Regions from separate parts of the Homo sapiens genome. Here regions 1, 3 and 4 are each linked to region 2. The links are contacts of gene promoters, found by promoter capture Hi-C in blood cells and fetal thymus (Javierre and others, 2016). All regions are on one chromosome and are shown on one strand. The core of a region is centred on a gene start or on the middle of the fragment in contact, and the rest is flanking DNA. Distances in the headings are between cores, read along the strand shown. Region 1 has its middle 5.1 kb from the start of EXOC1. Region 2 holds the start of AASDH (aminoadipate-semialdehyde dehydrogenase). Region 3 overlaps REST (RE1 silencing transcription factor). Region 4 overlaps EXOC1 (exocyst complex component 1).

Region 1 (2,837 bases), core at 33-2,532, 540 kb after region 2:
GCCCCACAACCTGCCCTTCTGCATGCTCCCCCTAGAGGTTTGAGCAGTGGGGCACTGAAGAAGTGAGTGACACCCCCATCGCATGCCCTGCGATGGGGATAAGGGAATTTTCCTGTTTCGGAATCACACAGACCAGGGGTTCAAATCTGGTCTTTACCCTTTACTGAGTCAGTGACCACAGGGCAAGTTACTTAACTCTTCAGAGCCTCAATTTTCTCATCTGTATATAAAAAATAGTAATCCCATCTTGGGCATATTTGCTAAGATGTTTCTTGTAAAGCACTTGTCTCATTGCTTGGCACACAGTATAAGCATTCAATAAATGGTAGCTGTTATTACATGCAGATTGGTTTAGTAGATTAAATTGGGCAGATTTACCTACTTGAAAAACATGTAATAGTCACCCAAGGAGGTTCTGCCCAAGGAGGTTCTGAGGTCCCGCTTCCTTTACATAGAAAGAAGGCTGTATATATTAACATGTATCACATATGAGGGAATCTCATACTTACATAGCATGAAATAACTTTTCCATTGTTAGTAAGCTCCAAGGGAAAAGTCTCTTCTAAATGGTGAAGAGTAGTAAATATTGATGATTTATAGAAGTTAATTGTTTCCTCAGAGAAATCGCTCTTGTTACTGTGCACCAGTAAAGCAGAGGCCTGAAGATTGTAAAGACTTCATGTTCTTCTCAAGACCTGAATCCATTTTGCACCTTTTGAAGGGGGAGGGAGACCATCCTTTTCCTCAGCTTGAACCCCTGAAGGAGGAAGGGCAAAAGTGCCCCACTCCCTCTAGGGCTGTCTCTGATGACATCGGTGGTAGCTCCACTGGCTTTGAGGACATTGTTTAGTGAGAAAACTCATAGATTTCATGGAAGTGGACTTTCATATTTCATATTTGGATGCCTCTTTTACTGGCATCCAAACTGTCTTTTGATATCAGTCTGATTAATTTTAATTTGGGTATAAAGCTAAGGGATCTTCAAATGTTTAAAATGTTCAAATGTTTAAAATCATGTAGATTTATATAATTTCAATTTGAAATGTGACATTTTAAACATTTGACATTTATTATGACACTTACTTTGATTTTTCTCTTCCCTATTTCTTAGCATTGTTTTCTTATAATTTAATGATGCATGTTCCTGTCTAAGAAAGGAAGAACTTTTTTTCAGAGATGTAAGACTATTAGTATCAACACAAAGAACACCAAGTAACTCTTTGTGGGGGTGGGGGGTGGACAATGAGAGTTACAATGCTGCACTTCCCAGATTCTTTATTTTCTTTTTCGTTCTGTTTTTTCTGGAGACAGTCTTGCTCTGTCACCCAGGCTGGAGTGCAATGGCGTTAGCTCACTGCAACCTCTGCCTCCCAGGTTCAAGCGATTCTTCTGCCTCAACCTCCTAAGTAGCTGGGACTACAAGCACATGCCACCATGCCTGGGTGATCTTTTGTATTTTTAGTAGAGATGGGGTTTAGTAGAGATGGGGTTTTGCCATGTTGCCCAGGCTGGTCTCAAACTCCTGGGCTCAAGTGATCTGCCCACCTAGGCCCAGATTCTTTATTTTCTAAATATCTTTAACAACTGCAGCAAGGAAGAAATGTCTCTACTGTTAAATACATAAAGCAATTGGTGTTTGTTTTAGGTTTTGTTAGAAATAGATGTAAATATCCCCACGTGATACTTTCCATTTCTTTGTAGCTTTATGGGAGGAAGTCAGGGAGTCACTAAATAAGGATGGTAATTACCTGTATCAATATTAATTAAGTAAATATTATAAATAAATATTAGTTAGATAGTAGATGCACATTTGACATCATTATTGGAAAGTAATATAATGTGACATACAAATAAATATAAGGAAGGCAAAGATTGGCTTGCAGAATCACATTGCGTCTCAATGCTTTTCTTATGCAGCTGCCTTATTTAATATACATATTGTAGAGTGATATTACAATAAAGGGCAGTCATTACAAATGCACAGTGCTGAACTCCGTATACACATTCTAGGAGATTCTCTCAGAAGTGCAGAAATCATCTCTTTTTTTTTAATTTTTTTATTTTTTATTATTATTATACTTTAAGTTTTAGGGTACATGTGCACATTGTGCAGGTTAGTTACATATGTATACATGTGCCATGCTGGTGTGCTGCACCCACTAACTAGTCATTTAACTTTAGGTATATCTCCTAATGCTCTCCCTCCCCCCTCCCCCCACCCCACAACAGTCCCCAGAGTGTGATGTTCCCCTTCCTGTGTCCATGTGTTCTCATTGTTCAATTCCCATCTATGAGTGAGAACATGCGGTGTTTGGTTTTTTGTCCTTGAGATAGTTTACTCAGAATGATGATTTCCAATTTCATCCATGTCCCTACAAAGGACATGAACTCATCATTTTGTATGGCTGCATAGTATTCCATGGTGTATATGTGCCACATTTTCTTAATCCAGTCTATCATTGTTGGACATTTGGGTTGGTTCCAAGTCTTTGCTATTGGGAATAGTGCCGCAATAAACATACGTGTGCATGTGTCTTTATAGCAGCATGATTTATAGTCCTTTGGGTATATACCCAGTAATGGGATGGCTGGGTCAAATGGTATTTCTAGTTCTAGATCCCTGAGGAATCGCCACACTGACTTCCACAATGGTTGAACTAGTTTACAGTCCCACCAACAGTGTAAAAGTGTTCCTATTTCTCCACATCCTCTCCAGCACCTGTTGTTTCCTGACTTTTTAATGATTGCCATTCTAACTGGTGTGAGATGGTATCTCATTGTGGTTTTGATTTGCATTTCTCTGATGGCCAGTGATGGTGAGCATTTTTTCATGTGTT
Region 2 (2,700 bases), core at 67-2,566:
AACATCATTTTGGCAGCAATTCAGAGTCAATCAGAGGCAAACAAAACTGAAAACGTTTTAGGAAAAAGCTGACCAAGAAGACCTGAACTAAAGTAGCAGTAATGGCGATGAACATGACACTTAAAAAACGCAGGTTCTAGGCCCCTCACTAGAAAACTAGGGGATGAACCTCCGGGGATGGAGTCCAGGAATTTGGAATCTTCTAAAACATCACCACCGGCAATTCTGATGTAGCCAGCTGGGTGCTGGTCTCAAGACTGAGAACTAGAGGACATAGGGTCTAATCGGATGTAAGAGGTTAAGAAAGTGGGAAGGTTGATAACTGTCTGGCTGGGTGGATGATGGTGTCATCCCAACGTAGAAACATAGAAACATAGACAAGATACACTTTTGCCCACTTCCAACCTAAATACATAAATAAGGCTGTGTTAGTTTGAGTAGTCCATGGTACATCTTGGAAAAGTATAGTTGGCATGTGGAGATATTTTTTGCTTAGATTAGAAGCACAGTTTCTTGTCACCAACAACTACGGCTGCGAGAGCGTCCTATGCTTTTTTCTCACGTACTGTTTTGATGCAGAGCTGTCTTCGCAGTCCCTCCCCCGGCTAAAACCCCCCAAACAAAAAAATCCCGATTATTCTGCCACCAGACAGTAGCTTTAAAACACCTCTGTTATTGCCCTTGACGCTTATTGTAATAATTGACATGTCTCCAACTGTAACAATTCCCTTGGAAACAGAAAGTTCTATTCAGGCATATAGTTTACAAAACTCCACCTCGGACCTGCTTTAATTTCTTTACAGGTCCTACTAAATGCTCCTGTCAAATTCCTTAGTTATCGTTTCAATCTGCTTCCCAATTAAAATGTCAGCATCATGATGACAGGAACGTCGTTTGCAGGCGTCACTGCTGCAGCCATATCTCCAGCACGTTTCCAGAAAATGTCATTGGTTGAAAGCAATAACTCTCCTATTTCACAATGATTTCATCTCTCTTCACATCAACCCTAGGTGATGTTTTTATTCTCACCTTATGAACGAGAATACTGCGGCTCAAAATTCAAGAGTCTTGCCCAGAGTTTTTTGGCAAGTACGAAAGGGTTATGGCTCCAAACTGGTTAGCTCCGAAGTCCTTGCAAACCCTGTCCGAGACCATGCGCGACCCCAAGGAGCGCCTGAGCAGATAACCAAAAGTGAAAAAGCCTATAGACCTCTTCACTCAAGTTAGCGCCTCGGCTTCAGGAGAGGCAGCGCCAGCTCCACGCAGCCGGCCCGGGGTCGCTCGCACTGACGTCACGTAGCGACGCGGAAGATTTACGTATGGTGCCTCGCTCTGGGATAGCTTTACGGCTTCTGGGAGCTGCTGCTTCGCTGTGAGAAGTATCCGCGACGAGCTATCCGGGAAAGGGCCGAATGCGATCAAACCTAATCCGCGAGACTTGCTAAGTGAGTCGCGGCAGGGCGCGGTGTCCGGCGGGGGTCTGTGTGAAGGAGGCGAAGTGCCGCTAGGCCTGAGCCTGCTTCCACATACATTTGCTCAGCTTCAGGACCACTGCCTGACCTCGGATTTGATACATCGGGGTCTGGCGTGCTGGTGTGGTGCAGACTAACCCTGACCTGTGTGTACACTCCTGCGTCACTAGCCTCCGCCCCTCCATTCAAATGGAAATAAGTGTGCTCCGCGCTCAGCTACCCCCTAGAGTGGTTTCGAAGAGCAATGAAGAAATGTTTAGGAAGCTGTAAATTGCATTGTTACTCGTTGCATACCGTAAATTTAGAAGCCGGGGAATTGGGAAAATAAAGTTTCTAGATTATTTATCCATTTTTAAAACAGCCAGTGGCCTAGAGAGAGGCCCCATAGCAATTGAATTTGCTGACACTCTTAAGATCTTTGTTGACTAAATAGCAGCTTCTACAGTTGTAGCAAGTAAATTTATTCCTTTTACATGTAAAATCTGCTTACCAGAGTTTGCTTTTTTTTTTCCTTTTTTTTTTTTTTTTTTTTTTTGAGACGGAGTCTCGCTCTGTCGCCCAGGCCGGACTGCGGACTGCAGTGGCGCAATCTCGGCTCACTGCAAGCTCCGCTTCCCGGGTTGACGCCATTCTCCTGCCTCAGCCTCCCGAGTAGCTGGGACTACAGGCGCCCGCCACCGCGCCCGGCTAATTTTTTGTATTTTTAGTAGAGACGGGGTTTCACCTTGTTAGCCAGGATGGTCTCGATCTCCTGACCTCATGATCCACCCGCCTCGGCCTCCCAAAGTGCTGGGATTACAGGCGTGAGCCACCGCGCCCGGCCTTTTTTTCCTTTTTAAGGTCTCAAACATTTGGGCATTAATAAGTTTAGTATTCTCTACTGCAGAGAATGTTATTTGTGATTCAATGAATGAAAATGAAAACCTGAGACAAGAAGAATGGATTTTACCTTAAATGTCTGTAGCAACCATTGGGAAAATGGAAAGAAACATCTTAATTATCGTATAGATGTGTAGGTACCCTTCTGCGCTACCTGTATGTTGCGAAATGAACTCATTCCTCATAATTTAAGCGCCTGCTGCAGAAAGCCTCCCTTATATTTACATAATGATCATTGTATGTCTGAGGAAAGCTTAAAATTGTATCTTGTGCATTAAAAAGAGCTAATATTTATAGAAATGCCTACTAAAAATAAATAATGTAAGTACTAAAGTTGCCTTATATGTTT
Region 3 (2,701 bases), core at 83-2,582, 540 kb before region 2:
TGAATTTACTACATCCATTCGAAATAAATAAGTTATATGAAATACAGATTCTGGCATAGATATAAGATGTAAAAATCAAAATCAATAGATTGAACCTGCATATTTCATTTGCTCACAAACTTGCACACACTATTATTCTGCAAAATAGACAACTGCAGCAAAGAAAAAGAAAACTGCCCTTTTGCAAACAAGTCTAAAAGCATCCCTCCAAAGACGCCAAACAAAATAAACATGCATATATATATGTATAAAGTGTTACTGTTCAACACAAATGCTATTTCTAGGAAAAATTTAACTGCATAGGCAAAAAAACATAAACAGAAACCAAAAGAAAAAAAAAATGTGCAACATCTTAAGCCATTAAAGCACCAAAATAAAAAACACACCAAAATCACTGTTTTTATGACGATTAACATACACAAATAAAAAATATTGATCAAAACTCAGGAAGTAAATACTTGGACTGATAGACTGTCTATTGCTGGGGGAATTTTTCTTCAATTTAAATGTCTTCTCATCTCTAAAAAAAAAAATCTTAAAGTGCTAACTTTATATAAAGCAGGCAAATTCTTCAAGTAATTTGCTATTAAGTAAGCCAATTTTTTATAGATCTCAATAAAAAACGAAGAATAAACTAAAGTGAAACAGGAAGATAAGACATGGAGAAAAAAATGACAAGTTGTAGCTGGACAAAGCAATAAAATGCTGTTATACCATCTTAGCCTTCTAATTTCAATTAAACACATAAGCTAACAGATACCTGCTGGTTTAGTACACTCTCTTAGATTTACTAAAATTTACACAACAATCAACAGGTATACATAAAAAGTCCTAAGGAAAAGAATGCCACTTAAAAATCAACATCAGATACTAATTAAAGCAATCTTAAAAGGTTGTCTGCTATCATAAATGAATATAAAATGTAATATACCTTACAAACTAAGAACTGAAACCTTGTTCAAAGTTTCATTACTCCTGCCCTTGAGCTGCTTCTTCAAGATAGTACACATTAACCAAATGGCGATTGAGGTGTTTGCTGTAATCTTTTCCCTTTCTGAAAGAACGATCACAGAAGATACAAACAAAATCTCCCTTAGCCGCTTTGACTGCCAAGGCTTCCTTTGCATTTTTTCTGCTAGATTCTTGTGGAACTGGCCGAGCCCCATGCAATCCAGAATCATCACTACCCTCTGACATGTTGTCACTTAGGTCACTTCCTTCATGGCTGTGGATGCCTTCATCTTCATCAATTTCCTGAGACTCATTTGCTGCCATTGTAGCAGGAGGTGATGCCAGTGCAGTTTTGGACACTGCTTCACGTTCTTCTACTGCTGAAGGGGGAAGCATTGGTGAAACTGGTTCTTCAACTGTTGAATTTATACCAGTGAGATTCTCTCTTGTGTTCTGATCAGTGTCCATTTTCATTTCACAAACTATACTGTCAGTCTGATGTTTACCATTTAAAGTTTCACCCTCTGGCGTATTCAAGTTTTGTCCAGAGGATGAAATATGGGTAGATTCGTTGATATTAGCAGCAAGACCAGGTAGGCTCTCATCTGCCTCTTCTGCTCCTACTTTCTGAAGAGGGGCTTCTTTATTTCCTTCACCTGTGTTGAGTAATTTTTGGTCTCCTGATGCCTCTTCTCTTAAATTTTCCTTTGGCAGTGGTGGTGATGGTGGTGAGAGATCCTCTGTGCTTACACTTTCCTTTAGAAGCCAGCTATCTTTAACAGGCACTAAGCCAACTTCAATAAGGACTTGCTCCTTCCGTGCCCTTTCACTCTGCATGTTAGACTTTTCCTTTTTATCTTTTCGGAGAGGAGGCTTTTTGGAAATTGGCTCCATGTGAAGGGGAGGCTCTCTGGGAGGAGGTGGCTCCCTCTGAGCAGGCTCCTTCTGAACCACCCCCATGGGAGGAGACAACTCCATCTGAACAGGCTCCTTCTGGACCACCTCTATGGGAGGAGACAGCTCTATCTTAACAGGTTCCTTCTGGACCACCTCCATGGGAGGAGACAGCTCTATCTGAACAGGCTCCTTCTGGACCACCTCCATGGGAGGAGACAGCTCCATCTGAACAGGCTCCTTCTGGACCACCTGCATGGGAGCAGATTCTACCTGGGCAACCTCCATCTGAGCAGGTTCCATGGGAGCAGGCCCCATTTGGGCAACCTCCGTCTGAGCAGTCTCCATGGGAGGAGGCAGCTCCATGTGAGCAAGTACAATTTGGGCACCCACCATCTGAGCAGGCTCCACGGGAGGCAGCAGCTCCTTCTGAGCAGGCCCCTCCTGAACCACCTCCATCTGAACAGGCTCGTCAGGAGCAGGCCGTATCTGGGCACCCTCCATCTGAGCATGCTCCATGGGAGGTGGCGGCTCCACCTGAACGGGCCCCTTCTGAACCGCCTCTGTGGGAGCAGGCCCCATCTGAGGAGGGTCCATCTGAGCAGATCCCTTCTCAACAGGTTCCTTCTGAGGAGGCTTACTGCTTTTCTTACTTGATTTATTTTTCAGAGTTTTCTTCTTTGTACTTTTTTTCATGCAAGTATTTTGCTTTTTATTCTCCTCCACTTTGCTGTCACCCTTTGGCACTTCCTGACTATTATTTTTGGATTTGCTTTCTACCTTCTTTTTCTTTTTTGTTGAAGATTCCTCATCATTCACAGGACCATGTAAAGAATGGCTGTCAACTTCCAGCTTC
Region 4 (2,700 bases), core at 100-2,599, 520 kb after region 2:
TTTCTCCACTTGGAACAGATTCTTAAAGAGGTAAAAATTCAAAGTAAAATAGTCAAAAAAGTAGAAAAGACTATAACATAATACATATAGGTAGGTATAGTTATAAGCACAGGTCACATTTAGCAGCTGAAAAAGAGGATAGAATGATTCAAATGATATGAAAAAATCAAACTTTATTTTTATAAATAATTTAATATGTTAATGAAATAAAGTTCTAAAAAATAAATAAAAAGCATGCAGTCTAATGCACTAACTTACAAATGTTAAAACAGGCTTTCACCACAGTTTCCCAAAATACAATTAAGCTAAAATGTAAAAACAAAATACAAAAACAGGTGGGAACAAACCTAAACATTTTTTCGTACCTGATGTGGCTGTTGCTCTAACAAAACAATGACTATGAATTCAGTACACACAAAAACAATTTGCTTTCCTTTTTTTCCCAGGTGAAATTTTTCTTTTGTTACTTTTGTTACTTTCATCTTCAGTATGTATATTTTTGCCAAATACTTTTTAATTAAAATGAAAAATGCATCTATAATCCATAATTTATTTTGGTCACTAGAATATTAACTGAATTATCCATTTCTTTGCTTAAAAAAATTTCACATGCATTGATAACATTTCTAAAGATAAGTTACAGCTTTCTCAATAACTCTAAGTAAGAGCAACAACAACATGGCTGTTTGAAATTATAAAAAGTTAAACAGGCTTCATGCTTTATAACAAAAGACCAAGAGGTCAAACCTGAAATGCTTTCTAGATGTTTCAGTTCATTTTTTTTTTTTTTTTGAGGAAATACACTAGCATGTGAGCACTGTATATAAAGCTTGAGGTTAGGAGGTAAAATGAAAGAAATCATTTTTAACTCCTAAGATGTTGTTTTATCACTCTAAATAAAGTTAGCAATTTCACAGACTTAATGGGGCATGATTTAAACCACAAACTCTGGATGCTTTTAGTATTCATTATTTTATAGGAAAATGAATATTTACATTCAGCATGACCTGAAATACGTTCATTTGTCCCAGAACAAAAAGAAGACTAAAACTTTTGGTACAGGCAATTACAGATTTTAGTATATAAGTTCTTTAGAGAGATATTACCGATCTCCTTGTCCTTTCAACGAGTCCATTTAATTCACTGCGAAAAAGTTCAACTGTCATGTGTGACAGCTTATTAGCCACTAGGGGGCAGGGACTGCCCAAATCATTCTGTACAGGTCCTTACACAAGTAGACTTAAACAAATATTTTACATGATTATAATTAACTGCTTCAGAAGTATTTTCTAATGATATGTCCTTGAAAGCCAATAATAAATACTATCATTAATTTTATTACTATGTAGATTTTTAAAATAAATTTGTCCCAGTACATCATTTCATAAAACATACAACCAACGGTATATAACAAAGGCAACTAATAAAAACATATGGAATAGAAGAAGAAAAGGTGTTACGCACCTTCTGTAACTTTAGGCAGTTCTGGAGAGTAAAAAGTATGAAAAAAGCAGAGGAAAGTAAGCAAAGAATATTAGCTGGGTAGAAAAGTAAACAGGCTTAAATTTTTAAAATACTACCCATATCTCATTTGAACTTCATGTTAAAGTTCAAAAGACAGCCAAATCAACTACCAAGTGGAAAGATCCATAAGAAGCTAAATTTGCCGTGTTCATTTTTCTTATTCACTTTCTGATAGTGACTACAAATATATTTATCTTTCTAATTTCTCTTAGTCTTTTAAGAAACAGCACTAACTAACCCTTAGAGGAGAAACCTGGCAAACTAATCATTTCCTGGGGATTATATTTAGGTCAGTTGTGACTCATGCATGTAGCCTAGTTATGTTACTTAAGGCCCAAAAGCTTTACCCAGACACTCCCTCACAGAGGATTAGTCACAAAACATGGTTAGAAAGGACAAGATTGAGGCAAGTAAAAAATTACACAAAATAACAGTTCAAGCCAGCATTTAAGGATTCAAGTCAAAGATTCTTTTTTAAAAAGCTGGTTGCAAGTAAAAGAATGAAAAAAAAGGCCAAATAAAAACTTCAATCTACTTCAACTGCTGAAAAGTCCTCTTTTACAAACCTTATTCTGCTGAGGAGCCCCATTATTTAACTTACGTATTCAATTGTCAACAATAAAAACTACCAAGTTGCCACTGCTACCATTTATAATCAAAATAGTCTTACTTAATTATTGAGCTCTTAAACTGGGGTGGTAATAATTTTTTATTTGTTTTCTAACATCACTCAAAACTTAGAGACATTTTTTTTTAATGGGAATTAAAGGCTGTAATTTCAAGGTCCATAAAACAAGTTTGTAGACATTAATGAAGCTATTCCCTGAACTCCACTAAACCAAAGCAAGAGTTACTGACGTATATAGCAAGTGATTTTCAAAATGAGATCCTTAAGGATCTTCTCAGTATTCTTAAAATCGATCTCAGTTAGGGTTAATGTTTATACACATGAACGTGTCTATACTCTTGTTTTATGGCCTGAAAAATTGAATGCCTTTTTTTTTTTAAGTTAGACACTTCATTTTCAAAAACAGTAATACTCTTCTCACTGATTTTGGTAGTATTTCTTAATGAGGCAGATCCAGGTAGGGTATGTATTTTTCTATATGACTGTCCTGAAATATACTGGTTTAAAATCACCTTACACAATAAATAACATCTGGAAATGCATAATAT

What was found. Contacts are between HindIII fragments. The CHiCAGO score rates a contact against its expected background, and 5 or more counts as called.
Region 1: a contact is called between a fragment that was not itself captured here and the fragment with the promoter of AASDH in region 2, in 3 of 17 cell types (fetal thymus, non-activated CD4 T cells and total CD8 T cells). The highest score is 7.5, in fetal thymus.
Region 3: a fragment that was not itself captured here is called in contact with the fragment with the promoter of AASDH in region 2 in 8 of 17 cell types (naive CD8 T cells, total CD8 T cells, non-activated CD4 T cells and 5 more); the score reaches 8.7 in naive CD8 T cells.
Region 4: a contact is called between a fragment that was not itself captured here and the fragment with the promoter of AASDH in region 2, in 9 of 17 cell types (megakaryocytes, activated CD4 T cells, total CD8 T cells and 6 more). The highest score is 7.2, in megakaryocytes.

The regions. Positions count from the first base shown.
Region 1 is chr4:55,847,118-55,849,954 of GRCh38, reverse strand. No RefSeq gene overlaps it. Among named protein-coding and RNA genes, the nearest start is that of EXOC1, 5.1 kb to the left of the region's middle. The HindIII fragment of the contact is 6,305 bases long and covers 1-2,837 here.
Region 2 is chr4:56,386,107-56,388,806 of GRCh38, reverse strand. AASDH (aminoadipate-semialdehyde dehydrogenase) reads left to right here and starts at 1,316. Exons shown (of 15, transcript NM_181806.4): 1 at 1,316-1,445. RefSeq lists enhancers at 972-1,021, 884-1,390, 1,052-1,421, 1,391-1,898. The HindIII fragment of the contact is 3,410 bases long and covers 1-2,606 here.
Region 3 is chr4:56,930,421-56,933,121 of GRCh38, reverse strand. It overlaps REST (RE1 silencing transcription factor), which reads right to left. Exons shown (of 4, transcript NM_005612.5): 4 at 1-2,701. The coding sequence ends at 970. Among named protein-coding and RNA genes, the nearest start is that of REST, 24 kb to the right of the region's middle. The HindIII fragment of the contact is 4,321 bases long and covers 1-2,701 here.
Region 4 is chr4:55,865,657-55,868,356 of GRCh38, reverse strand. EXOC1 (exocyst complex component 1) reads right to left here. Exons shown (of 19, transcript NM_001024924.2): 5 at 1-21. Among named protein-coding and RNA genes, the nearest start is that of EXOC1, 13 kb to the right of the region's middle. The HindIII fragment of the contact is 1,036 bases long and covers 832-1,867 here.